Linked DNA regions of Homo sapiens: regions 2, 3, 4 and 5 are each linked to region 1. The links are contacts of gene promoters, found by promoter capture Hi-C in blood cells and fetal thymus (Javierre and others, 2016). All regions are on one chromosome and are shown on one strand. Each heading gives the region's core, a stretch centred on a gene start or on the middle of the fragment in contact. The rest is flanking DNA. Distances are from core to core; before and after follow the strand shown. Region 1 holds the start of CABYR (calcium binding tyrosine phosphorylation regulated). Region 2 overlaps ANKRD29 (ankyrin repeat domain 29). Region 3 overlaps LAMA3 (laminin subunit alpha 3). Region 4 overlaps LAMA3 (laminin subunit alpha 3). Region 5 overlaps LAMA3 (laminin subunit alpha 3).

Region 1 (5,112 bases), core at 667-3,166:
ACATACTGGTGATTGAAAGGGAGATGAACACAAGCCAAGATTGTGAAACCACATCAAATCATTAAGAGTTCAAGAAATCAAAGCAGCGATGGGCAGTGGTTTGAAAATTCTTGGTTAGATGTTTACATTGTAACAATTTGCATTTCAGAATGACTCAGCCAAACAGTCACTGAAGAAATGGAGAGTAAAATCTTGTTTTTTGAGTTACAGGTATTTCTGCATAATACCTTACACCTAATAGATGTTTGAGATGACCCACCAAGGTTACGTTAAAAAAACCATAAATGTCTCCAATTCCAAAAGACACCATAGATGAGGTACTTAGGATTTTCAGTAGCTCAGTTCATTATGTCTCTGACACCTAAATGTGTTATAAACCAAGCTATCAGAAATCATGACAGCCTCATCTCACTTTTATTTACATTACCAAAGTGGTGCTGGAGGCAAGTGATGAAGGATGAAAAATATCTGCAGACCCACCAACATACTCAGTCTAAAAGCATTTCTCCCTTTTTTTTGTTTTGTTTTGTGAGACGGAGTCTCGCTAATTCTCCCTTTTTAAGTATGTAAACTTCCCGAGAAGAGGGAGCTTTCCTGGCACTCAGTAAAATAATTATTAAGTGGATTAATGAATGGCACCAGATAATGCTGACTGAGGCCTTAACATTGCTTTTATTGCAAAGTGCTCTGGAAGCCCTAATTTTTTCTGAATTAAAAAATAGGGTTTTGTTTTATTTTGGTTTGGTTTTTGTTTTGTTTTGTTTTGTTTTTGGTCAGATATCTGCCCTGGCGATGCTCTTTGGTTTAAAGTAGTTGCTTTTTAAACATTTGAAGATGGATCAAAATTAAGGCTGCTTGTACTCTGATAATCATGATTATGGTGTTATTTAGAGCCCAGCCCAAATACCTGAGCCTAAATGAGTGAAAGAGCAGAGAGTGGGCGTTTTTTTGTTTTTTTTGTTTTGTTTTTTGTTTTTTTGAGACGGAGTCTCGCTCAGTAGCCCAGGCTGGAGTGCAGTGGTGTGATCTGGGCTCACTGCAACCTCCGCCTCCCAGGTTCAAGCAATTCTCTGCCTCAACCTCCAGAGTAGCTGGGATTACAGGCACCCACCACCACGACCGGCTAATATTTTGTATTTTTAGTAGAGACAGGGTTTCACCATCTTGGCCAGGCTGGTCTTGAACTCCTGACCTCGTGATCCACCCGCCTCGGCCTCCGAAAGTGCTGGGATTACAGGCGTGAGCCACCGTGCCCGGCAGAGTGGGCGTTTTTAAATGAAGCAGTATTCCTTTAGTTTGGTAAAATTGAGCTGAAGTTACACACAGTAACACCTTGACTTGTTGCTGACGGTGTGCTTTGTGGGGATAGTTGGTGTCTGATCTCAACTGTGGAGAAACAGGAAGTTTCTGGATTCATGCTGAACTCCCATTCCACAGGCGAGTTTCACAAAAGAAAAAGTGCTCTGTTGCATACAATTATTCACTGTGTGTCTACAACGTGGCAGAAATTATTATTCCTAAAGGTGACCGAAGAGAGCTATAGTTTATGGGGCCAGGAGCAATGTGTGGAATGGCGAGGCAGTGACAAGACAGCACTGCCATAAATCTCTTACTTTCTTTCCAAACGAGCTCTAATTTTAAGCTCAACGACCAAAGACGGAGAGGCAGTCGCTTTGAGCTACTCCTGGCTATTTGTTGGGAAATCACCTAAATCCGTTCAGATTTAGCCAGAAAAGGGGAAATAAGTCTCCCTCGCCGGCCAAATCATGGCCTTTGTCGCTTTCGGCTCCCCATTGGCTGCGGCCGCTGTGGCCCCGCCTCCTTGAGTGGTGCGGAGCTTTGTGATGCGGAGCTTCGTGATGCACGCCCCGATGCCTGCGGGGCTATAAAAACGCTCGCAAGCGCCAAGTCTCCTCAGGAGCCGCCGGCAAGGGGGCAACGAGGAAGCTCTTAAGAGCGCGGCCGGAAAGCAGGTGGGGAGAATCTGGAGAAAAGGCGCACCCTGCGGCCTCGGAGACCATTATGTCTCAGGGAGTCTCTCGCAGTGGGAGAGGTCGTCGGGGCAGGCGGAGGGTCCTCAGAGTCGGGGGTGGGGGGCCTGTGGGGCGGCCCCGGCCCACACCGGGGAGTGCGGCGACCAGACGGCCAGCTGCCGAATCTGAGGCCTCGGTGGGTCCGTCGCCCGCCTCTCTTGGACAAGTCCAGGCGATGTGAGCACGCCCAGCCTCCTACATTTCACTCCCGTCTCTCCCAAACAGACCTAGCGCAAAACGAGCACTGACACAGCGGGGGCCCACATCCCGGAGGTTCTTTAGGGAGAGGTCGGGGAGTGCGGTTACCTATGGCTCCGAAGTCCCCGCTGGCATCCTGAAAGGCATCGTATTTCTCGCTTAAGGCGTTACCCTTGTGGTAGTGGGCGCATGGACGTTTACAGTTGGGCGGGGCAGGATTTAAATTCCGCCAGTGGTGGACCAGTATTGGTGATAGGAGAGATCTGGGAAGAATTATTAAGCTGTCGCTTTTAAATAACCCTAATAGTGTTTGTGACAATTTTACCCGTTGACTTTTCTCAGCTTGCTTAGGACAGTTCTTTGTGGGGAACTGAACTGTAGGACGTTTAGCGTCCCTGGCCCCACACGTTCCCAAAGTCGGGGTGAGAACTAGTGGGACGGGGGATCATGGAGTGCATGGCCGCTGTCCCCACCTTTGGTAGCACCAACTGCTAACTGCCTCCTGAAAGGTTGTTGGCGCCATCATGGTTTCTGGGAGCCACTTTCTTTTTTATTCTTTTTTTTTTTTTTTGAGACGGACTCTAGCTGTGTCACCCAGGCTGGAGTGCAGTGGCGCGATCTCGGCTGTCAGCTCCGCCTCCCGGATTCACGCCATTCTCCTGCCTCAGCCTCCCGAGTAGCTGGGACTACAGGCACCCGCCACCACGCCCGGCTGATTTTTTGTTTTAGTAGAGACGGGGTTTCACCGTGTTAGCCAGGATGGTCTCCATCTCCTGACCTCGCCTCGTGATCCGCCCGACTCGGCCTCCCAAAGTGCTGGGATTACAGGCGTGAGCCACCGCGCCCGGCCTCTGGGAGCCACTTTCAAAACGGTCTATCTACTCACTTTGGGTACTTAAAGAAAATTAGACATATGATATATATGAGTATGTATCAAATATATATATGTATCAAATAGTATGTATGTATCAAACATGTCATGCTGCCTATGCCCCTTAGCATTTAGCATGTGGGACTGCGGAATCCCCACTTCTGATTTTTTAAAAAATTCTTTTTTTGTGAGTACACAGTAGGTGTATATATTTATGGGGCACATGAGATGTTTTGATTCAGACATACAATGTTAATCACATTGGGAATGGGGCATCTATCCCCTCAAACATTTATCCTTTGTGTTACAAACAATCCAGTTATACTCTTTCTGTTATTTTAAAATGTACAATTATTGACTATAGACACCCTGTTGTGCTTTCAAGTAGTAGGTTTTATTCATTTTTTATACCCATTAACCAGCCCCACTTTCCCCCTCCCCCACCCAGGCCCCATTACCTTTCCCAGCTTCTGGTAACCATCCTTCTCTATGTCCGTGGGTTCAATTGTTTCAATTTTTAGCTCTCACAAATAAGAGACCATGCAATGTTTTCCTTTCTGTGCCTCACTTACTTCATTTAACATAATAATCTCCAGTTCCATCCACTTTGTTGCAAATGACAGGATCTCATTCTTTTTTAATGGCTGAATAGTACTCCATTGTATGTATGTACCACATTTTCTTTATCCATTCATCTGTTGATAGACGCTTAGGTTGCTTCCAAATCTTAGCTATTGTCAACAGTGCTGGAACAAACATGGGAGTGCAGATATCTCTTCTGTATACTGATTTCCATTTGGGTATATACCCAGCAGTGGGATTGCTGGATCACTTCTGGTTTTTTAAAGATGGTTTAATTCAGTAAATCTGTTGAATGATATCGTAAAAGGAAGTTTTCATTAAGGGATTCAATTATACTTAATTATATACTGAAAGGATTTGCTTTGGCCAGTACAGATTCATTTTGTCCTGACCTTTGGGAAGATGAGATGTGTTTTTAAGTATTGAACATTTTGCTATGAGATATTCGTTACTTTATAATAGAAGCTGTGCCCTTCTATAATTGTTGTAACTGAACTATGCCACTTAACCCCGTGAAACTCATTATTTACTGTAGGGATGTTGTTGAGGACATGGTTCATTATATCACACTATTTGCTTTATAAGGACTTGGGGGAGAAATTTCTCCTGGGTTTCAGTATCCAGAATAGCTGTGGTTCTCCCATACAACTGATGTGTTTTTCACCTCAAGAAACCTGAATCATTTAACCACCTATCTCCTATTTTGTGATGGCTGCTTGGTAGCTTAGGGGCCGATTTGATGCCCATCTTTATCAAAGTGAAGGAGCTATGGCATGCATTGGAGTGCTAACTTTACCTGTAGCTTCACCTTGTTTTTCCTATCTTAGTTTTCCTAGGGATTTTCTTAAATATTTAATTTTGTTCTTTAGAAGCCTTAGGTGATTTTTTAGGAGTCAGAATACATACACCCTGACACAGTTTCAGGTGGCAGCCTCTGCAACTCTGAGAATTACAGGTTGGTCTGTGCAGTATCTCTGATACCACTTAAAAGGCAGAAAGGCAGAAGGGGAAACATAAGGGAAAATTTGGGAAGAGGGTAAGGGAGATATGAGAAACGAAAGGTACAAATGACAGTGGGTGGTATAATAATACCACAAATAAATTATACTCACACTGATTAATGTTAAAAACAAAGTTATTCCTGCAGGTACAAAGCAGGCTGAAAAAACCCCAAAATTTAAAGCTAAAAAATGCACACTTAAACATGAGCAATGGTCGGGCACGGTGGCTCATGCCTGTAATCCCAACACTTTGGGAGCCTGTGGGTGGATCACAAGGTCAGGAGTTCAAGACCAGCCTGGCCAAGATGGTGAAACCCTGTCTCTACTAAAAATACAAAAATTAGCCGGGCGTGGTGGCCAGTACCTGTAATCCCAGCTACTCGGGAGGCTGAGGCAGAGAATTGCTTGAACCCAGGAAGGGGAGGTT
Region 2 (5,112 bases), core at 1,123-3,622, 500 kb before region 1:
AAGGATAGAAGTAATTCCCCATAAAATTTTCCAATTGTGAGCCCAGAGTAAAAATGTAACGTTTTGAATAGAACCCTTAGAGCTACCCCTGAACCACTACAAGTAACCTTGAGGAAATCCACTTACTTAGGTTTGAGAATCTTGTAAAAAGGGAAACATAAATTCGTACCATAGATGAGGAGAAAAGCAATACCCATGGCTGCTGAAATTCTTCAACATAATACAAAATCAAGAAGGTTATCTCACTTTGGTCCTAAATTCAGTGGATGCTCCAAATCCAAAGAGAAATCTCACGACATCATTATGGCCTTGCTGGGCGGCAAAGAATAGGGCAGTTGTACCTGACTGGGAGAGAGGGAGAGGCTAGTTTTAAAAGACATTTGGTTATCTTACATTTGATTTGAACATCTGCAAAGAAAACAAAACAATATCCTTGCATAGAAAACTTCTAGCCTAGGAAGGGGCTAAATTTGAACAGATTCTTATTTTTTGGTCAGAGAAGTGACAAAAGGAAAGGAAAACTTTATTCTTAGTGAAATGGGATGAATGGTGGCTCCTCAAAAGATCTGTCCCCATCCTAAAACTTGTGAATATTACCTTCTATGGCAAAAGACGTGATTAAGTTAAGGATTTTGAGAAGAGCTTATCCTGGGTTATCTGGGTGGGCCCTAAATCTAATGACAAGTGTCCTTCTAAGAGTGAGGCAGAGGCACTACTCACAACAGCTAAAATGTGGAAGCACTGAAGTGTCCATCTATGGATGAGGAGACAAGCAAAATGTGATGTATCCATACAATGGACTATTATTTAGCTAAAAAGAAAGGAAATTCTGACATATGCTACAACATGGATGAGCCTTGATAACATTATGCTAAGTGAAATAAGCTAGTCATAAAAGGCCAACAACTATGTATGATTTTACTGTGATTTTTTTTTTTTTTTTTTTTGAGACAGAGTCTTGCTCTGTCACCGAGGCTGGATGGAGTGCAGTGGTGCCATCTCGGCTCACTGCAACCTCTGCCTCCCAGGTTCAAGTGATTCTCATGCCTCAGCCTCCCAAGTAGCTGGGATTACAGGCGTGCACCCCCACATCTGGCTATTTTTTGTATTTTTAGTAGAAACAGGGTTTCACTATGTTGACCAGGCTGGTCTCAAAGTCCTGGCCTCAAGTGAGCTGCCCACCTTGGCCTCCCAAAGTGCTGGGATTACAGGCATGAGCCACTGCACCCAGCCTGCTGTGATATCTAAAGTAGTCAGAGTTATAGAACCAGAAAGTATGATGCTGGTTGCCAGGGGCTGGGGGAAGGGGAGTATGGGAAGTTATTATTTAATGGATACAGAGTTGTGTAGTTTTACAAAATGAAAAGAGTTATAGATGGGTGATGATGTTGGTTGTACCACATTATGAATGCATTTAATAAGACTGAACTGTACACTTAAAAATGGCTAAGAGGGTAAAGTCTACATTATGTGTATTTTACCACAATAAAAAACAATAAATTTTTTTTTGAAGTGAGGCAGAGGGATATTTGACCCAGAGAGAGGCCAATGTGACCACATAGGCAGAGACTGGAGAGCTGTGGCATTGAGGAGAGAGTGCTGACAGCCACCAGGGGCTGGAAGAGGCAAGGAAGGGAATTCCCCCAGGAGCCTCCAGTGGCAGTGCGGCACAGCCCACACCTTGATTTTGGACTTCTGGCCTCCAGATCTGAGAGAATAAATTCCTGATGTTCGAAGCCACCTAGTTTGTGTTAATTTGTCACAGCAGCCCTTGGAAACTCAAGATATTTGGTATAGTGTTTGGTAAACACTAGCATTCCTTAATACAGGGAAGAATTCAAATTACAAATTTTAGCGCCCCAGAGTGGAAGACTACTTGTACAAGAAGGAAAATAAGTAATTCACCCACAAACTTCTCCAATTGCAAGCCCAGAGTCAAAATGAGCTCAAAACATTTCTCAAAATGGGACATAATAACAAGAAACATCCTGATTCTAAAATTTAAACTGATCATGACATTCTGAGACACAGTTTTTAGCATCCTCCCTTCCTATCTACTTTTACAAGTCTACTCAAAGATTGGTACCCAAATCACTGTGTAATATGAGCAAAATAATGAACCATTCTTGTGGGCAACATACATTTTTCCTATAGAGTACTCTTCACTTCTGAGCTTGGAGCTTGGGACAAAGCTAATACCACACCTTACCAGACACAGTGAAAAGAAATCCCTTTTTCCATAGTTTACCCAAAGCTGTTAAGATGGTAGGTCTCACTCATGTGTGAAAAGCTGAGGACAGCCTGGCCTATAAGCTAGTGATCATGCTTAAAACTTGTTCTTAAGGGCCTGGGTGTCTCTGTGAATATGTACGTGTGTGCATGCATGTGTGGGATGGGAGTGGGGACAATAAGACCCACTGAGACAGGCAGGATCCACCCACTTGTTTGCCTGTTTTTAAATGTGGTCTAGAAAAAAAAAAGCCCCTTACTCAAGCTGTAGCTTGCCTAACTTCTCACTGATGGCAGTGGTGGCCTGTCTGGAGCAGCAGCTGCGAAGATGCAGGCTGCCACACGGGAGGTGCAGCTGGGGCTGCATGCTCCTCAGGTCCAGTGGGAGCTGGAAGCAGGTGGGAGCCCCATCCCCTATTGAGTTGGCTGTGCGGGAGCAGCCATGCCCAGCTGCAGCTCCGGTTCTGGGCATCCCTGTGCTCTCTGGGCCTGGGAAGCCCCCATTACCCCCACAGGCTTGGAAGTGCCTGCTCCTGCTCCCTGGCCTCTCCCCACTCCCGGCACCTGCTCCAGTGCGGAGCAAAGCTGTAGCCGAGCCTGGGTGCTGTCTGTCATGACCTGGCTAGGGGAGAGCATGCTTGAGGTGTGTATGCTTGAGGTGGTGTTGACATGCCAGCCTTGCCCCCCAACCTTGGCCCCCTCCGGACTTTGGGTGCTGACAAGCACAGGAGGGAGGCTGAGGGGCTGAGGGCAGCTAGGTGTGGGCCTGTAGGCGCCCCTTGGCAGGAACAGCCTGGGTGCCGTGGATGGCATGTTGATGGTGAGAGGCAGACACGTTCCCACCCATGGCTTCCCATGGACCAATCAGCACACACTCCCTCCTTTCTGAGCCCATAAAAACCTCTGACTCAGCCAGATTCAAAAAGATGTCCCGACTACCAGCTGCTGGAAGGATCTACCCATTGTGGGTCTCCTGTCCACTGAGAGCAGGACACAGAGGTCAGGACTACCAGCTACAGGAAGGAACTACACACTGTGGGTCTCCTCTCTGCTGAGAGCTGGACCCAGATATCGGGACTACCAGCTGCGGGAGGAGCTATCCATTTTGGGTCTCCTCAGATCATCAGGATGACTTGCCTGCGGAAAGGCGCTACCCACTATGGGTCTCCTCTCCACTGAGAGCTGAACACTTGTTAGGATGACCTGCCTGCAGAAAAGAGCCACCCACTTTGGGTCTCCTGGGAGGTGTTCTGTCACTCAATGAAGCTCCTCTCCACTTTGTTCACCCTCCAGTTGTTTGCATACCTCATTCTTCTTGGATGCGGGACAAGAATTTAGGACCTGGCGAATGACCCTGTTTATAACACAAACAGGGCTGAAACACGCCTTCTGCTTGCCACATTGCAGGCAATGAGGAGAGAGGAGCTACAGCCCTTTGGGGAGCCCAGACCTAGGGGCTCCCTGAGCCAGGGCTATGATATCCTCTTTGGGGCTCTGCGGTTCCTGGCATCTCCAAGCTCCCAGGCACCACTACATTCCCTGGTGCCTGCAGCGGAAGCCACTTGCGGTACATCTGGTCCAGCCACAGCCTCACACAGAGCTGGCACCTGTGCCAGTGGCTGGAGCTGCCTGCCTCGCCACAGCTGGCATGCCTGGTTGTGTGCAGTGGCTGGACCCCATGCTTGCTCACACACCTGGCTTGCCCTTGGCAGGCATGGGACCTGGGCTGGTAGGGTGAACCAAGTGCAACCTGCTGGGCCAAGTGGGCAGAATGAGCCCAACGGGCCTGAGCAACACTTGGGCAGAAGGCGCTGCTAGCCATGGAGGTTTCCAGCTGGCAAAGTGACACCCTAAGGATCCTGTGACAGCCAATCAGCAACAAAAGACCCAAGAAACTATCCAGAAGTTCTCACTTTAGGTGGGTAGGGACTTCCTGGGGCCCTGCATGCACAGTTAGACTTAAACTTCAACTTACAGTCACCTCTTCCTTATCTTAATGCTAAAAATCACACCTGAAGGTGGAGATTTAAAATGCTAATCTTACATGCAATGATTAAAAAGCATATTGAGCTACTGTGCAAGTGCTGTACATGCCCTGACTAAACCCTTCCCTGTAAAAAGACCCTATAAAACAAACTCACATACTTCTCTTGGGGAGCAGGCAACCCTTTTCCTTTCCATAAGGGAACCTGGTTCTCTTATGCACAAGCTAAACAAACTTCCTCTTTGCTATCTGACAATCTCTTTTGACTTCTATCCTGGGAGATTATAAGAATCTAGGGTGCTGATAACACCACCACTGAGGGAGAACATGTAACACCTTCCTAGTCAGATATAACCCACATCAGGCTGTGCCCTCAGCCAGACTCTGTCCCAGGAAGGCACAGGCATTGTGACCATTCACAGGGCCTTTCTGCCTGCAATGCAGGTGTGATTTTCTCCTTGGTTCCCACAGAAATAAGTGGGAAGCATCCTCCCACTGCTTTATTACAGTTGATGATGCTGGGTTCCGGAAACCTTAGGGAATTAATAGTTCTGGAGGAAGAAACTTGGCTAGAATAGGAAAACTCTCACCTTCTCAATAGATATTAAATTTTAGAGACTACCAAAGGTCTTTTCTAGAAGTTGTTTCTTTAGTAAGATAAATAATTTGCTTTTCAATAGGCTTTCTTGGTACATTAATTACATAAATCATTATTAGAGCAGTTTGAGCTGATTTTAGAACATACATACTACTATTAATCATTCTGTACCTCAATGCAGCAATCCATAAATAGGAGCTATACCTTAGTCTGGAATGTGAATAAAAGTTTTAAATATGTGTGCCTTACTTCAGGGCTTCATGCCAACTGTATGTGCAGCTCCTATGCCTGAGAGGTGTCA
Region 3 (5,112 bases), core at 1,680-4,179, 430 kb before region 1:
TGTAAATATCTTCTAGTTTTAACTTTTCACTTTTTAAAGGTGTCTTTGATGAAGCAAACTTCTTTATACATATTTTATTTATTTATTTATTTATTTTTCGTAGAGACAAGGTTTCACTATGTTGCTCAGGCTGTCACCAACTCCCTGGGCTCAAGGAAACAAAATTCTTTTTTTTTTTTTTTGAGACAGAGTCTTGCTCTGTCGCCCAGGATGGAGCGCAGTGGTGCAATTTCAGCTCACTGCAACCTTCACCTCCCAGGCTCAAGCAATTCCCGTGTCTCAGTTACAGGCATGTGCCACCATGCCCAGCTAAAGGAAGCAAAATTCTTAATTTTAACATAGTCAGATTTATCCATCTCTTCTTTTGTAGTCAACGCTTTTTGTATCTTTGGTTAAGAAACCTTTCCTTGCTCTCAGTTCTAAAAGGTAGACACCTTTTTTTCTACTATGAGAGTTTGAAGTTTTATTTTTCACATATAAGTCCTTACTTCATCTGAAGTTGAATTGCATTTGCGACTTGAGTAGAACTCTGATTTTATTATTTCCCCCTGGATCTAGAATATTCCTTCCTTTCCCAGCGGTCTGACATACCACCTATGTTATATACTAAAGCTTCTTAAATGCATGGGCTGCCTGTTCTGTCCGATAGGTCTGTTTGTCTCATTTTGCCTTTCCTTAATTACAATAGCTTCATAATAAGCCCCGATTCCTTGAAGGGCAAGTTTCCTCCTCCCGGTCTTCTTCTTCAGCAATATCTTGGTCCTTTAAAGTTTCATATAAATTTTAGAATTATCTTACTGTACTTTAAGAAAGTCCTTATTCAGGTTTTCACTGGCATAATATTGTCTCTATAGCTTAATTTGGGGAGAATTGGTAAGTTTTTGATATTATCTTCTAGCTAACTCTCCATTTATGTAGATTTTCAAAATTCTGTTAATACTGTTTAAAATTTTTATTTGTCAAATTTCTTTTGAGATACTTGATGTTCTCTGAGACTATTATAAATGGCATTTTCTCTTTAATTAAATTTTCTAGTTGTTTGCTGCTACTCTACAGAGATGCAATGACTTTTTTATTTTAATGTCACATCCAGCTACCTTGCTAAAAATCTCCCAGTATTTCTAAAATTCTCTTTAGCAGATACATTTGGGTCTTTATTTTCTTTTTTTATTTTTTATTTTTATTTTTTTCAGAGTCAAGTTCTCACCCTGTTGCCCAGGCTGGAGTGCAATTGTGTGATCATAGCTCACTATACTACAGCCTCAAGCTCCTGGGCTCAAGCAATCCATCCCAGTCTCCCAAGTAGCTGGGACTGCAAACACATACCACCACACCTGGCTAATTAAAAAAAAAAAAAAATGTTTTTCTTGCTATGTTGCCCAGGCTGGTTTCAAACTCCTGGCCTCAAGTGATCCTCCTGCCTCAGCCTCCCAAAGTGCTGGGATTACAGGTGTAAGCCACTGTGCCTGGCTTCATTTGGAGGTTTTTTCTTTTTTCTTTTTTTTTGAGACAGGGTCTTGCTCTGTTGCCCAGACTGGAGTCCAGTGGTATGATCTTGGCTCACTGCAACCTCAGCCTCCTGGACTCAAGCGATCCTCCCAACTCAGCCTCCCAAGTAGCTGGGACTACAGGCAGGCACCACCACACCCAGCTATTATTTTTGTATTTTTAGTAGAGACGGGGTTTCTCCATGTTGCCGAGGCTGCTCTCGAACTCCTGGGCTCAAGCAATCTGCCCATCTTGGCCTCCCAAAGTGTAGGGATTACAGGCGTGAGCCACTGTGCCCAGCCTCATGTGGAGTTTTAATGTAAATAATTTTATCTTTAAATAAATAATAACAGTTTTATTTCGTTTATTCCAAATGTTATACATCTGTTTTTTTCTCCTGCCTTTAAAAAAATCCTTCTTGTTCTTGTCTCTTGCCCATTTTTTACTTTCAATTCTTGTGGAAAACACCAGGTTGAGTCAGAAATAGCAGAGACTTATAAATATATAAGACCTTTTATTTTGTGTATGACCATGAAGCAGTAAAGTTGGTATAAGCGTCTGTTGGAAGATATGGCTACAGAAAAAATAAAGTGGCCTGTCCCAGTGATACTCATGGGAAGGAAAGAGCCTCCTCAATGATCTTCCATCTGAGAAGTCCCATGGATTCTTTTCTCTTCTGCTCCACAAGTTTGATTGTCTTTTCTTTCTTTCTTTCTTTTTTTCTGGTGAATTAGCCAGCCAGACTCAGTTTAGATGATCCCAATTTTGTTGGCAACATCCAAAGCATTGTAATCAGGAGCCAGTTGAACATATGCCTTCTTCTCTCCATCAGGCCTAATCAGGGTGTTGACTTTGGCCACATCAATGTCATAGAGCTTCTTCACAGCCTGTTTGATTTGGTGTTTGTTGGCTTTAACATCCACAACGAACACAAGTGTGTTGCTGTCTTCTATCTTCTTCATGGCGGACTCAGTGGTCAGCAGAAACTTGATGATAGCATAGTGGTCAAGCTTGTTCTCCTGGGGGCGCTCTGCCGAGGATATTTGGGCTGCCTCTGGAGTCGCCGTGTCGTGGGCCGCCGGAAGGTGGGTGACGTGCAGATCTTTTTTTGTGTGGCTGTGGACACCTTTAAACACTGCCTTCTTGGCCTTCAAAACCTTCGTTTTGGCTTCAGCTTTAGGAGGGACAGGAGCTTCCTTCTTCGCCTTCGGCGCCATCTTGTGAAAAGACCGCAAGTTTGATTTTCAAAAGTATTGTCAGGTATTGCCCTTTTAAAAAGCCCCACGAGGTTATCTTCTCTCAAAACCTTGTTGCTTGGTGCCAAGGCTTTACTTGCAGGATTAGTCATAACCTTGGCCTCCCTGAGAAAGTTCTTCAACCGCAAGTCTACTTATCTAGGTAGCATGTCCACGTCGACTTAATTCTCCATGAAGAGCTCAAGAAAAATGATTAAGAAGGCTGCAAAGAGTTTTAACACTTAAGAAAGTCATTCTTCTGATTTTTTTTTTCACTTCTAGATCCACAGTCTGATTTCCTTTAGGGCACTACTAAATTCTTTTTGATTCTTCATATAGGTTGATTTGCAGTAAATATGACATTGAGATGTAAGGTAAAAATTACTGAAAGTTCAGGAGTAAAACAAATGAAAGAAAGGACAAGGAATACTTTAATAAAACGATTTGAATAAAAAATTTTCACCCTGACCGTTTAAGAGTAACTTAAAGAAGCCAAACTTTCTAATTATTAATTTTTAAATACATTATTAAATTTTTAGAATAAATTTTTCTTTCTTTTTAAAGTCAATGTTTACACTGATCTTTTTATTTTTCAAACAGAAAGTGTATGTTACACTTTTGCTTGTTAATGTTTAACTTAAGCTTGTGGACTCTTTGTTAGAAATTATTTTATATGGCAAAAAATTTATCACCTAAACTTGGCTAATACAAAGTTAATCCAGAAAAACCATCATCTAGGGCATTACTGGTTTGACAAGTTGTTTTTGTAGATTCTTTGCTGTCTGTCAAGGTTTTTTCCAATAGTCCTTAGAAATAAACAGAAAGTTTGACTCATTTTTATTACCTGGGCAAAGCTCGCTCCTTGGAATTCACCTTTAACTTATGTATCTATTATATCAGTCAGACTTCCAAATGTCAGTGTTGACACCTGTGATGCTGTCTTGCCTATACACTTATTTTTTAAATATGTGCTTTCAAATTATTTATTGCTCAGACTTGAAATATATATTTGATATATATAGTTTTTAGTGCCTACTAATTGTGAGATCAAGGGCTAACGTGAGTGCTAAAGCTCCTGAGCCTGTGTTCTTACCTAGTCTGCTGAATGACATGGACAGGAGCTGCAGAGGGACTGCTATATCAGCAGAAAGGCTAAGATGATTCTAAATGAAAGAGACCTTCAGGCTACTGTGAAGGCTACCATTTAAAACAAATTACAGGAAATAACGTATGTTAGTGATTATGCATGGATGTATAATAAACCAGAGTTGTAGCTGTTAGAGAGTTACAGGGTAGTGTTAACTTGTTATCCCTGGACTCTGGACTTAGGTCCTGATTCTACCATTGACCAGTGGTGTGGTTCTTGGGAAAATTACTTAACATTCCACTCTCTTTCCTCATCTGTAAAATAGAGGTGATAATAATAATCTTAGTATGAAAATATAAACTGGGTGGTGCCCAGTGCATAATAGGTGCTCTACAAATCTTCATCTTAATTATTATTATTACTTTGAAATTGAGAATCACTCTAACAACCTAGAAAGCACCTTCTGCATTCCTCACATCAATAATGTGGAGATGGAGATAAATGTAAATCATAAGCATTCCCATTTTGGGGAGAGATTTTGCTTCTAGCCAGATGTAAATCTTCTAAACTTTGAGGAATAATAATTAAATTCCCTCATCAAATAACTAAATGTTCTGGTAAAATGTTCTCTAGGGAGAAATAAAGATCATAGAAGGGAAAATACTGATAGTAAGTGTTTAGATGTCCTAGCTTAAAAGTTATTCATAGCTGGGTGCGGTGGCTAATGCCTGTAATCCCAGCACTTTGGGAGGCCGAGGCAGGCGGATCACCTGAGGTCAGGAGTTCAAGACCAGACTGACCAACATGGAGAAACCCCGTCTCTAATAAAAGTACAAAATTAGCCGGGCGTGGTGGTGCATGCCTGTAATCCCAGCTACTCGGGAGGCTGAGGCAGGAGAATCGCTTGAACCTGGGGGCGGAGGTTGCGGTGAGCTGAGATCATGCCATTGCACTCCAGCCTGGGCAACAAGAGTAAAACTCCGTCTCAAAAAAAAAAAAAAAAAAGTTATTCATTAAGCACCATATTATGACAATGCATTTTATAGAAAGAATCAACATTTTTGAGAAATGGCTGATGGAATTATTCCTTGGTTGAGTTTCTAGGGGGTGCAAGGCAGTGTGTTGGGTTGAAGTGATAGAGGGAAGAGCAGGAAACATATGGCCTCCGACCTCAGGAAGTGGCGGGGCCACATACACCCAAGGCACTGCTTCTGAGTTATAGAACCATTTTTGTATAATGTCGAAAGATAAAGATCTACACAGATACCTCACCATGCATGAAAGAACCATGAGTTGCATACT
Region 4 (5,112 bases), core at 1,776-4,275, 350 kb before region 1:
CTGAATTGATGTTAGTTTCTTTCCTTCTAAAAACTGGAAGGAAGAAATACATTTAATTCACGATTGTCATGAGATGGGAATCTATTAAATTGAAGTTATACTTTACAAAGCTCGGCTTTAGAGGGAAAATAAAATGTTTCCACAGGAATAGATGTTAAAAGAATGGTTTGCAAATGAATGCCCATCCTTACGTGTTTTTTTTAATGATATCTCTGACCTTTTGTGAATTTTTAAAAATTTCCCTTCAACGCAGTGTAGTCTTCTGCGTTAAGAATGTTTAACAGCCATAGATAATTAATAATCTATATTCCCATGATAGAAACCTAGGGGAAGGGAGAAATTAAGAAAGTGATGGAAGATGGAGACCCCTTCTGAAAGTTTCCTGTCTTCTGCAGGGTGTGACTGTAATCTGGAAGGTGTTCTCCCTGAAATATGTGATGCCCACGGACGGTGCCTGTGCCGCCCTGGGGTTGAGGGCCCTCGATGTGATACCTGCCGCTCTGGTTTCTACTCATTCCCTATTTGCCAAGGTAAGTGGGCAGAACATAGCATATTCATAATCAATCCCTCAAGATAAATTTCCTCCTGAGGAAATGCAGATCTTTCTGGCAGAGCTGTCTGGCTTGCAGTTTAATAAATGGGCCCCTGGCTTATATATGGATGTTACATGTGATGGTCCTACCTGGACCTTGTCACTTCCCTTCTTTCCAACCTTACCCTGCCTCCTCCCTGGTAGTTAAGCACATGGACTCTGAAATAATCTGTTTGGGTTCAAATCCTGGCTCTGGAGAGGAGGTGGTATCTGAACAGCATTTAGGAACCTGCCACCACTTCTCAGATCCTGTTGGGGCGGGTCTCCAGATGCCAGTTGGGTTTGCAAATTGGAAGTGTGTGAATAAGATTAGAAAGATGGGAAGGTGGATGACAGAAGGAGGCAGGGTGTTCTAGAGAGAGGGGACAGCACATGCAAACCATAGAGACATGAGACCACAAACCCCCTCCTCCCCACTTGTTTGTATCCTAGTATCCCATCCCGGCAAGGGTCGCTGAAGGGGGGATGGAAGGTGGGAGGAGGAAGTGTCTGGTCCGGTCCCTAGAGCATGGCAGGTATGCACTCAATGCTGGGTGAGTGAACACATGAATGAATGAATTTGCCCAAATTATTCTCCCCTGCCTCCTTTCTACTGTCTGACATTATTCTTCTTTCTGCAGACAATGGTGTAGGGGAAGGGAGGAGAAAGAGGAGAAGATTATCAGTCCAGGATCAAGGCAGGAAATAAAACACCACTTCAGACACTATAAAAAGAAAGAGATTTATTATAGGTAATTAGGTGCTAGCCCAGAGGAGTTGTTAAGAGCCAGAGCAGCAGGCTCTAGGCTGGGCTTCCAAGGAGGCCTCCAATGGAATGGCTGGGTTTTAAGCCCAGACTGCTATGTCCCAGTGCAAGGATGGGAAGCCCATGGTTGGTGACTTCATCTCTTGGCATCCAGGAAGCCAGAGTCAGAGCACAGCTGCATAAATGCTCAGCCAGCTACAGGATGCAGCCTCCTCCTTATTTCCCATCGGTCTAATCTTATTCACACACTTCCAATTTGCAAACCCAATTGGCATCCAGAGCCCTGCCCCAACAGAGTCTGAGAAGTGCTGTCTTTAGCTTTCCAGCCTCTGAACACTGGAGGATATTAGAATAGGTATTAGGTCATCTCACCTGCAAGGTCAGCCACACTAAGGAACTGTAAGCATGAAAAACTCCCTCCCCTAAGCTGGAGGACAAGGTAGTGAAGAGCAGGGGTGGCACTAGCTATCAACTTGGGCAAGTTACTTAACCCCTCTGTTCCTCAGTTTCCAAAAAATAGTGCCTGTCTCATAATTCATTGTTGTGAGGGTTACATATGTACTGACAGGTAAAGCTCTTAGAACTGAGGAAGTAATTGTTCATAAGTTAGCTATTCACTTGCACCTTTCTTCTCCTGACCTATACTTCCCTCTGCATCATTTTAAGAGCTTGTAGTCCCATTTCCAGCCATCTCCCTGTTTGTTTAAATGCCTGAATCCCATACCCCAAACCTTTCCTTTACCTGCTGGCTCCTGGTGTGCAAAACATTCTTGTGGCTGAAAATATATCAAAGGGTTTCTTTTTTTCCTCCTCTCTACCAGCCACAACTTCAGATTCATTCTGGTAGAATGAATTACAAATATTCTAACTTATTCATATGGACAAAGCTTGTGTTTATGGATACAAAGATAATGAATAAATAATACAACACTTTAAGAATGCTCTTTTCCACATTTCTCCACTACTAGAGCTAATTTATTTTAAGGTAGGTAGAAAATGCATGAATGTATTCATGACAAAGCAGAGGGGAGGAAGGACTTCCATAACAACAGAGGAGGGAGGTTGGTAGATACTCTTTTCAGTAAAACAGAAATTAACCAGTGAAAATATTTTAAAAAATTGTTTGAAGTCTCTGTTAATGGTCATAAGAGCATATAGCAAATGAAGAAACAATTACTTAAGAAAATTTGAATCTAGGTAAGAAATGAGAGTCTCTGTGACATTTCAGCCATGACCCCCTTCATTATCCATCCCCAAATCTGTTTTATAGAAGATCTACCCATATGTGTTGCCAAGAAGATGGGCACTCTCTTTATCCTGTGCCCCAGTTTGGGGCTATGGTTTGTTTCATTTTGGGAGGGGAAGGCCACTGATATTTCTCAACCTTCTGCAGTCCTGTATAGCAGAAGCCCTATTCCAGGTGGGCTCAGCAAAGAGGACCAGCTCTCTCTTACCCACCACCCCTCCACTTGTAGGGTAGTAGCTCTAACTTAGGCACTTCAGGCTGAGAATTCTGGGATCCCAATCAACCCTACCCAAGCTGGCTCATAGAGTAGGGATCTATGGTGGGAGAGGAAAACTGAGAAGACCATGGCGCCACCTCCACCTGTGTCCACTTGTAGAGCATAGCAGAATTTCAAAGAAAGAGGGAAGTGTGACCCATACATAGGGGAAGAAGAAGACAATAGAAACCACTTTTGAATGAGCCAGATGGTAGTCTTAGCAGACTTTAAAGCAGCTATTATAAATCTGTATAGAAGACTAAAGGAAATCATGGTTAATGAATTAAAGGAAGGTATGATGACAACATCTAATTGAATAGAGAATATCAATAAAGAGATAGAAATTGTTTTACAAAATAACCAAATGGAACTTTTGGAGTTGAAAAGTATAATAACTGAAATGAAAAATTCACTAAAGTGGCTCAACAGTAAATTGAGCTAGCAGAAGAAAGAATCAGCAAACTTAATGACAGATTGATAGAGATTGTGCAGTCTGAAAACAGAAAGAAAAAAAGAATGAAAATAAATAAACAGGCCGGGGGCAGTGGCTCATGCCTGTTATCTCAGCACTTTGGGAGGCCAAGAGGGGTGGATCACTTGAAGTAAGGAGTTTGAGATCAGCCTGGCCAACATGGTGAAACCCCGTCTCTACTAAAAATACAAAAATTAGCCAGGCATGGTGGCAGGCGCCTGTAATCCCAGCTACTTGGGAGGCTGAGGCAAGAGAATTGCTTGAACCTGGGAGGCAGAAGTTGCAGTGAGCCAAGATCGCACCATTGCCCTCCAGCCTGGGTGACAAGAGTGAAACTCTGTCTCAAATAAATAAATAAATAAACAGAACCTGAAAGAAATATGGGATACCATTAAGCACAACATATGGGTAATGAGAGCATCAGAAAGAGAGGAGAAAAAGGAATAGAAAAAAATAGCCAAAGAAATAATGGTGGAAAACTTACTAAATTTAATGAAAAGCCATCTATACAGCTAAGAAGCTTAATGAACTCCAAATAGCATAAATACAGAGGGATCCACACAGCCAGACATATTATAGTTAAAATCATAATTAAAATTTTGAAAGACAAAGACAAAGAGAAAATCTTGAAAGCAGGAAAAAAAAGACTCATTATGAACACAGGAACACCAGTTAGAATAACAACTGACTTCTCATTAGTAACAATAGAGGCAAGAAGGCAGTGAGAGCGTATATTCTAAGTGCTGAAAGTGGAAAAACTGTCAACCAAGAATCTCCTATCCATCAAAATTACTATTCATGATCAAGGCTAAGTAAAGACTTTCTCAGATGAACAAAAACTAACAGAATTCACCCAACCTGACTTATAAGAAATAATAGACATAATAAAGGATGTTCTTAAAGCTGAAACAGGTACCATCAAATAATAATTTGAATAACATGTAAAAATTACAAAAGAGAGTATAATTGAATATTTTTATACATTCTTCTCTTGACTGATTTTAACAGAAAGTATACGAACTGTATATACAAATACATACATACATACATAAATATGGGGCCTATATCATATAAAAATGTAATATGTTTGACAGTAGCACAAAGGAGATAGGTGAGAACAAAGCTGTATTGGAGTAAGAAAATGACACCAAATCTATAGGAAGAAATAAAGAGAACTAGAAAGGATAAATAGAGTTTATAAAGACACTCTATAAATATATGCTTGATCTCCTTTCTTCTATTATCTTCCTTAGAAAACATAGATTATATAAATTAATAATTATAAAAATGTATTGCTGGATTTTAATATAGAGAGACATAATATGTATAATAACAATAGTACAAAAATGGTGGAGAGGGAATAGAACTAAATAAGAGTAAAATTTCTCTATTTTACTGGAACTAAATCAATATGATACTAATGTAGATTTCTTTTTGTAAGCCCTAGAGCAACCACTAACATAGTAACTCAAAAATGATTAAAAAGTCATGAAACAGAGTAAAAATTACACTAGAAAATATCTAATACAGAAGAAAACAATAAAGGGGGAATAGAGGAACAAAAAATACATGAGATATACAGAAAATAAAATGCAAAAGGGCCAAGGTAAATCCAACACTATCAATAATAACATTAAACATGAGTGGATTCAACCTCATACTATAAACAAAAATTAGTACAAAATGTATGAAGAAACTAAACGTAAGAGCTAAAACTATAAATCTCTTAGAATAAAATATAGGCATAAATCTTCATAACCATAAATTAGGCAACTGTTTCTTAGATATGACAACAAAAGCA
Region 5 (5,112 bases), core at 906-3,405, 330 kb before region 1:
ACTGTAGAACCCAAGAACATTTCCTCAGAATTCTACCACTAGGTAGAGACTTAACCTCTGCAGACAGGCCAGCTGGGACTATGGGCCATGAGAGAAGACAGGTGGAAATGGCAGTAGGAGATCTGAGTGTTTGTCCTTCTGTCTGCCAATAGCTAGGGGAGCATTAGACACGCTTTATATGGAGTGGGTAGTGTCTTGTGGGGGTGCTTTATGCTATGTCAGTCATTCTCTAGTCTTTGTTCTGGATTTTTAGATCTTAGAGATCAGGGAATACAGTCAACACCCAACACCCAGTATCCATGGGGGATTGGTTCCAGGACCATCCATGGGCACCAAAAGGCAAGGATACTCAAGTCTCTGATATAAAATGGCACAGTATTTGCAAATAAACTACACACATCCTCCTATATAAATTAAATTTCTAGATTACTTATAATACATAATATAATGTAAATGCTACATAAATAGTTATATTACATTATTATTTTATTTGTATTATTTTTGTTATTTTTTAGTTGTGTATTTTTCTGAATATTTTTGATCTGTGTTTGAATGCATGGATCCAGAACCCACAGATATGGAAGGCTAACTATATGTGTTTTTGTATTTACCTCCACCGTAACACCTAGCAAGGGTGCTGCTGGAACACAGTAGGCCTTCAATCAATGTCTGCTGGATGGATGACTGTAAAATAGGAAAGTGAAATGATAGTAAATTCTCTGGGTCTGCAAGTACTTGTGTCTCTCTGAACAAGTCACATAGCCTGTTGAAACTCCCAGGTAATTTGTAAGTGAGTAAACTAGCCGAGTTCCCCTCCATCAGTGAGAGTTTCTTTTACGTTTCTGATGACAACACAGGTAAATTCTGTCGTTCACCATCATTTACTAAAAAGCACTTTCAGAGAAATTCACCATACATGGGCTGGGCTGTCACAGAGAATGAAAATAACATGGTCTCGTCCCTGTGGGGGCCCCATGCGCCAAGGCTTAGATTCCAAGGCTACCTGTAAATAAATTACCAGAACTGGGGCTTTACCTTATGAATCTTTTCTTTCCTAAGGCTCCAACTAGCATGGAATTTTTGAAACCTTGCAAACAAGGTTGTATCTTTTACTGTGTACACTACACTGGATAAAAATTTGGAAGTCAGATATACTAATTCATTGATTTTCATTAATTCAGTGTGGGAAAGTGTAAAGAGCACCTCCCCAAGCACTGGGGGACTTGGGTAATTAGAATAATAATGTTAATAAGTGTGAACACTTCCTGAGCATTTCGGCTGTGCGAAGCATCGTGCTCAATGCCTTATTGCTGATGATTCTCTGATAACTTCATAAAGTAGGTGCTATTATCAGCTCCAGTTTACAGAAGAGGAAACTGAGGCTTAAAGAAGCTAAGCAACTAGCCGTGATTGCAGGGCTGTTAAGTGGCACAGCTGGTACTGGAATCCAGATGTGTCTGACTCCAAAGACTGAAGCCCTTTATTAGAGACTAATCCATTGACTTTAAAAATGCCATTTAACTTCTGAACTTCACCATGTAATAATGGGATTCAATGAGATGCTCTCTCTAGTTTCTTTCAGTTCTTAAGATGTAGAACTCTTCAGCCGGAGAAGTCAGTCAGGTCAATTCCACTGCTCATCCCTCTCCAGAAGAAGGGTTTTTGCAATGCAAATGGGGACGACCTTGTGCAACTCCAGCCCATAGAAGTCTAGTCTCATAGAGACTAGTAGGGACCTGATCCAGTGGGAAGGGGGCCAAGAGGAGAATGAATGGCCAGCATCTGTTCTCTCCATCCACACGTGTTTATTCATCACTTAGCCAAAGATCATGGTAACAGCTTGGGGGAGGGAGGAAACTAGGATGCCTTTCCCATCCTTTTCAATGTTGCCTGCACCATTTTTTCCATGACTACTTAACTACACTAGACATTGAGAAAAGAGGTATAAAGAGAGGAGGAAAGAGAAGATCAGGGACAGTTGTAGGCTGATCTGGCCTGGAATGGCTTGCACTTGATATGGAATATCAAGTGGGATATGGAATTAAAGTGGCCCTCCAGTGAGTCACATCCCCCATCAGTTGTTCCCTGCATCCTCCTCCTACAAATACTGGTTTCTGTAGGTGAGCAGAATCCCCAAAACCATCACCCAGCACCTGCAAATCTTGCTGAATATGAAATTCATGACAGCAATAAAAACTAGCAGTTATTGAGTGCTCGCTATGATAGGCATTGTCCCAAGCTCTTTTAAGTATTATCTTATGCAATCCTCACAACAAGTTATCAAATAAAAATTAGTGTCACTCCCACTTAAGGAAGGAGAAACTGAGGCTTAGAGCAGTTGAGTGGCTTGTTTCAGGTTCCCGATCTCATAAGAAGTGGAGCTGGAATTTGTGTTTGGGTCTTTCTGGCTCCACCCTCATGCTCTGCTCCGGGACGTGGTTCTTCCCCCTCCCATACCTGCAACCCCCGCCTAAGTCTGATTGAATTCTTTCATCCAGCCTGCTGGTGTTCAGCCCTTGGATCCTACCAGATGCCCTGCAGCTCAGTGACTGGACAGTGTGAATGTCGGCCAGGAGTTACAGGACAGCGGTGTGACAGGTGTCTCTCAGGAGCTTATGATTTCCCCCACTGCCAAGGTAGGAAAGTCAGCAGATTGCTAGAGGGCTGGTTCCTCTCTGAAGTGTGTGCAGCCAGCCTCCCAGAGAAGCCTGCAAATCCCCCACAGACTCACCACTGGCCACCCCCACATCCTGCTTTCACAGATCTAGTCTGCTTGGTTCCTCACCTGTTCAAGTCTGGTTTGAAAACACGTATATCATATATGTACCCTCAAAGGAATCCAGAAATGATTTTTTTAACTAAAAATAATGTAAATTTCCATGTGCTATACATGTGGGTTTCTTGGTTCACATGTCAGTTTTCTGTGGATAGCATTGTGGCATAGGTGACTCCTTTGAGTTAAAGGGGCCATTTGTTGTCTTCTGTCCCGAGGCATCATGCCTTCTTTCGCTCCCAGCTTGTGGTGCTAATGCTGGCAGCACTGTAATGTTTCTAACAGATCCACTTGCCAGCAGGCTTAGCAGGACCTTTGCTGTGTTTCGGGCCTCTCTCCCTGCCCTCCTCTGGCCTTCTGGGGGACCGTGTCATCGTACTTCAGCCCAAGTGTTGGGGAAGGCGGGTGGGATGCACTGGAGTCTATGCAGTTTGGAGAGAGTGCACTGAGGGGGAGATGAAAACCAAGCCTGCAGCTGTGGGACGTGGTTGGTATTCATCCCTCTGTTGATATGAGAGATTAAGGCTTGCCCATGTACCATGGCAGAGGGGACAGAAATGAGATGTCCACAAATTTCCCTGGGCTCCCTGGTGTGTGCAGCCAGAGAGCAGACCAGTAGCTCTTGTCAATTTCGGAGAACTCTTGCTACTGTGAAGAGGTGTTTGTGGAAGGCTGACCCAGACTATCCATCAGGAGAATGTGGTTTCTCAGACCCCTTCCTGCGCTTTGAAGACAGGACTGACTTCATTTCCCAGAATCTTCCTAACCAGAATCCTCTGGAGACCAGGTTTCCTTGAGGGTGGAAGTTGCAGCAGGCAGTCAGAGGTGGGTGCTTGCCTTTCAAAAGGCCTGAAGGTCCCTAGGATGCGAGGGCATCCTGCATGGGTCTGCTCACCTCCATGGGCCTCAGGAGCAGAAGGAAGTGCTGTGGCTGCCTGGCAGAGAAGCTGAGCAGCCACAGTCATCCCAGGGCTAGATGGCAATGTTTGTGTCCTGGAGAGGAACCCGAGGTTGGGCATGGAAAACAAACAGCTGGAAATTTGTGTTGGGTATTACGGAAAAATGCAGGGAACAGGAGAACATCAGAAAAGAAAGAGAGGGCAGGGTGGCTCATGCTTGTAATCCCAGCACTTTGGGAGGCTGAGGCGGGAGGATTGCTTGAGGCCAGGAGTTGGAGACCAGCCTGGGCAACATAATGAGATCCTGTCTCTAGAATTTTTATTTATTTTTGATTTTATTTTATTTTTTTTTGAGACAGAGTCTCGCTCTGTCCCCCAGGCTGGAGTGCAGCGGCATGATCTCAGCTCACTGCGAGCTCTGCCTCACGGGTTCAAGCGATTCTCCTGCCTCAGCCTCTCGAGTAGCTGGGATTACAGGCATGTGCCACCATGCCTAGCTAATTTTTTGTATTTTTAGTAGAGATGGGGTTTCACCATGTCAGCCAGGATGATCTTGATCTCCTGACCTCGTGATTTGCCCGCCTTGGCCTCCCAAAGTGCTGGGATTACAGGCGTGAGCCACCACTCCCAGCCTCTAGAAAATATTTTTTAAAATAACCGGGCATGGTGGTGCATGCCTGTCATTCCAGCTCCTCAGAAGGATGAGGTGAGAGGATCACTTGAGCCCAGGCATTGGAGGTTGCAGTGAGCTATGATCGTGCCACTGCACTCCAACCTGGAAGACAGAGCAAGACCCTGTCTCAAAAAAGAGAGTGAGAGAGAGAATGAAAATCATCAAGGGGAAGCTGAGGCAGACAGAAGCAAACAAAGCCAATAGGGTTAAGGAACAATTTATAAGCAAACAAGATCCTATTATGGATTTATTTAAATGATTTGAAAAACCAGACTCAGAACAGACTTACCCAGTTCAAACACTGTGTAATTGTAATACTGAAACATTGCAAGATCCCAATTTATTGAAGAGAGATTATATTTGGTTTGTAGTGTTATACTAAGTCAGGAAAACAAACCAATTGATTTTATAAATAACTTTAGTACGGGTGGGAACAAGGAGGTGTGATAATTAAAGATGTACTTAGAAATTCTAGAACGTCTTTTAAATGGGCAATTAAAAGTCTCTTGGTACAATATTGCCCTCTTCTGGACAATACTAATGATGCTCAAAATTTTAGAATCTTTCCCTAATCTCCTCCTTCATCATCAATTAGAAGTGAACTGTCATGAGTAGACAGGATAGGGATTTGTTCAGTGGCAAAAGAGGTAATTTGGGGATTAAGGACCATAAATGTCATTCAAGATGCCTGACTATGAATTGCATGCAGACTTTGCCACACATCTATCGAAAATATAAATGTAGATACACTATTTTTGAAAACAAAA

The links. The method cuts DNA at HindIII sites, captures the fragments that hold promoters and counts their contacts. A CHiCAGO score of 5 or more calls a contact.
Region 2: a fragment that was not itself captured here is called in contact with the fragment with the promoter of CABYR in region 1 in 1 of 17 cell types (total CD8 T cells); the score reaches 5.2 in total CD8 T cells.
Region 3: a fragment that was not itself captured here is called in contact with the fragment with the promoter of CABYR in region 1 in 1 of 17 cell types (total CD4 T cells); the score reaches 5.1 in total CD4 T cells.
Region 4: a fragment that was not itself captured here is called in contact with the fragment with the promoter of CABYR in region 1 in 1 of 17 cell types (naive CD8 T cells); the score reaches 5.9 in naive CD8 T cells.
Region 5: a contact is called between a fragment that was not itself captured here and the fragment with the promoter of CABYR in region 1, in 2 of 17 cell types (non-activated CD4 T cells and total CD4 T cells). The highest score is 5.8, in non-activated CD4 T cells.

The regions. Positions count from the first base shown.
Region 1 is chr18:24,137,146-24,142,257 of GRCh38, forward strand. It overlaps CABYR (calcium binding tyrosine phosphorylation regulated), which reads left to right and starts at 1,917. Exons shown (of 6, transcript NM_153769.3): 1 at 1,917-1,973. RefSeq lists an enhancer at 1,502-1,561. The HindIII fragment of the contact is 10,284 bases long and covers 1-5,112 here.
Region 2 is chr18:23,638,603-23,643,714 of GRCh38, forward strand. It overlaps ANKRD29 (ankyrin repeat domain 29), which reads right to left. Exons shown (of 10, transcript NM_173505.4): 4 at 247-345. Among named protein-coding and RNA genes, the nearest start is that of ANKRD29, 22 kb to the right of the region's middle. The HindIII fragment of the contact is 9,898 bases long and covers 1-5,112 here.
Region 3 is chr18:23,707,583-23,712,694 of GRCh38, forward strand. The region is part of intron 1 of LAMA3 (laminin subunit alpha 3); the gene reads left to right. It also overlaps the pseudogene RPL23AP77. Among named protein-coding and RNA genes, the nearest start is that of LAMA3, 21 kb to the left of the region's middle. The HindIII fragment of the contact is 867 bases long and covers 2,497-3,363 here.
Region 4 is chr18:23,783,628-23,788,739 of GRCh38, forward strand. It overlaps LAMA3 (laminin subunit alpha 3), which reads left to right. Exons shown (of 75, transcript NM_198129.4): 12 at 396-530. Among named protein-coding and RNA genes, the nearest start is that of LAMA3, 97 kb to the left of the region's middle. The HindIII fragment of the contact is 1,607 bases long and covers 2,223-3,829 here.
Region 5 is chr18:23,807,868-23,812,979 of GRCh38, forward strand. It overlaps LAMA3 (laminin subunit alpha 3), which reads left to right. Exons shown (of 75, transcript NM_198129.4): 13 at 2,499-2,636. Among named protein-coding and RNA genes, the nearest start is that of LAMA3, 120 kb to the left of the region's middle. RefSeq lists an enhancer at 2,563-2,622. The HindIII fragment of the contact is 8,791 bases long and covers 1-5,112 here.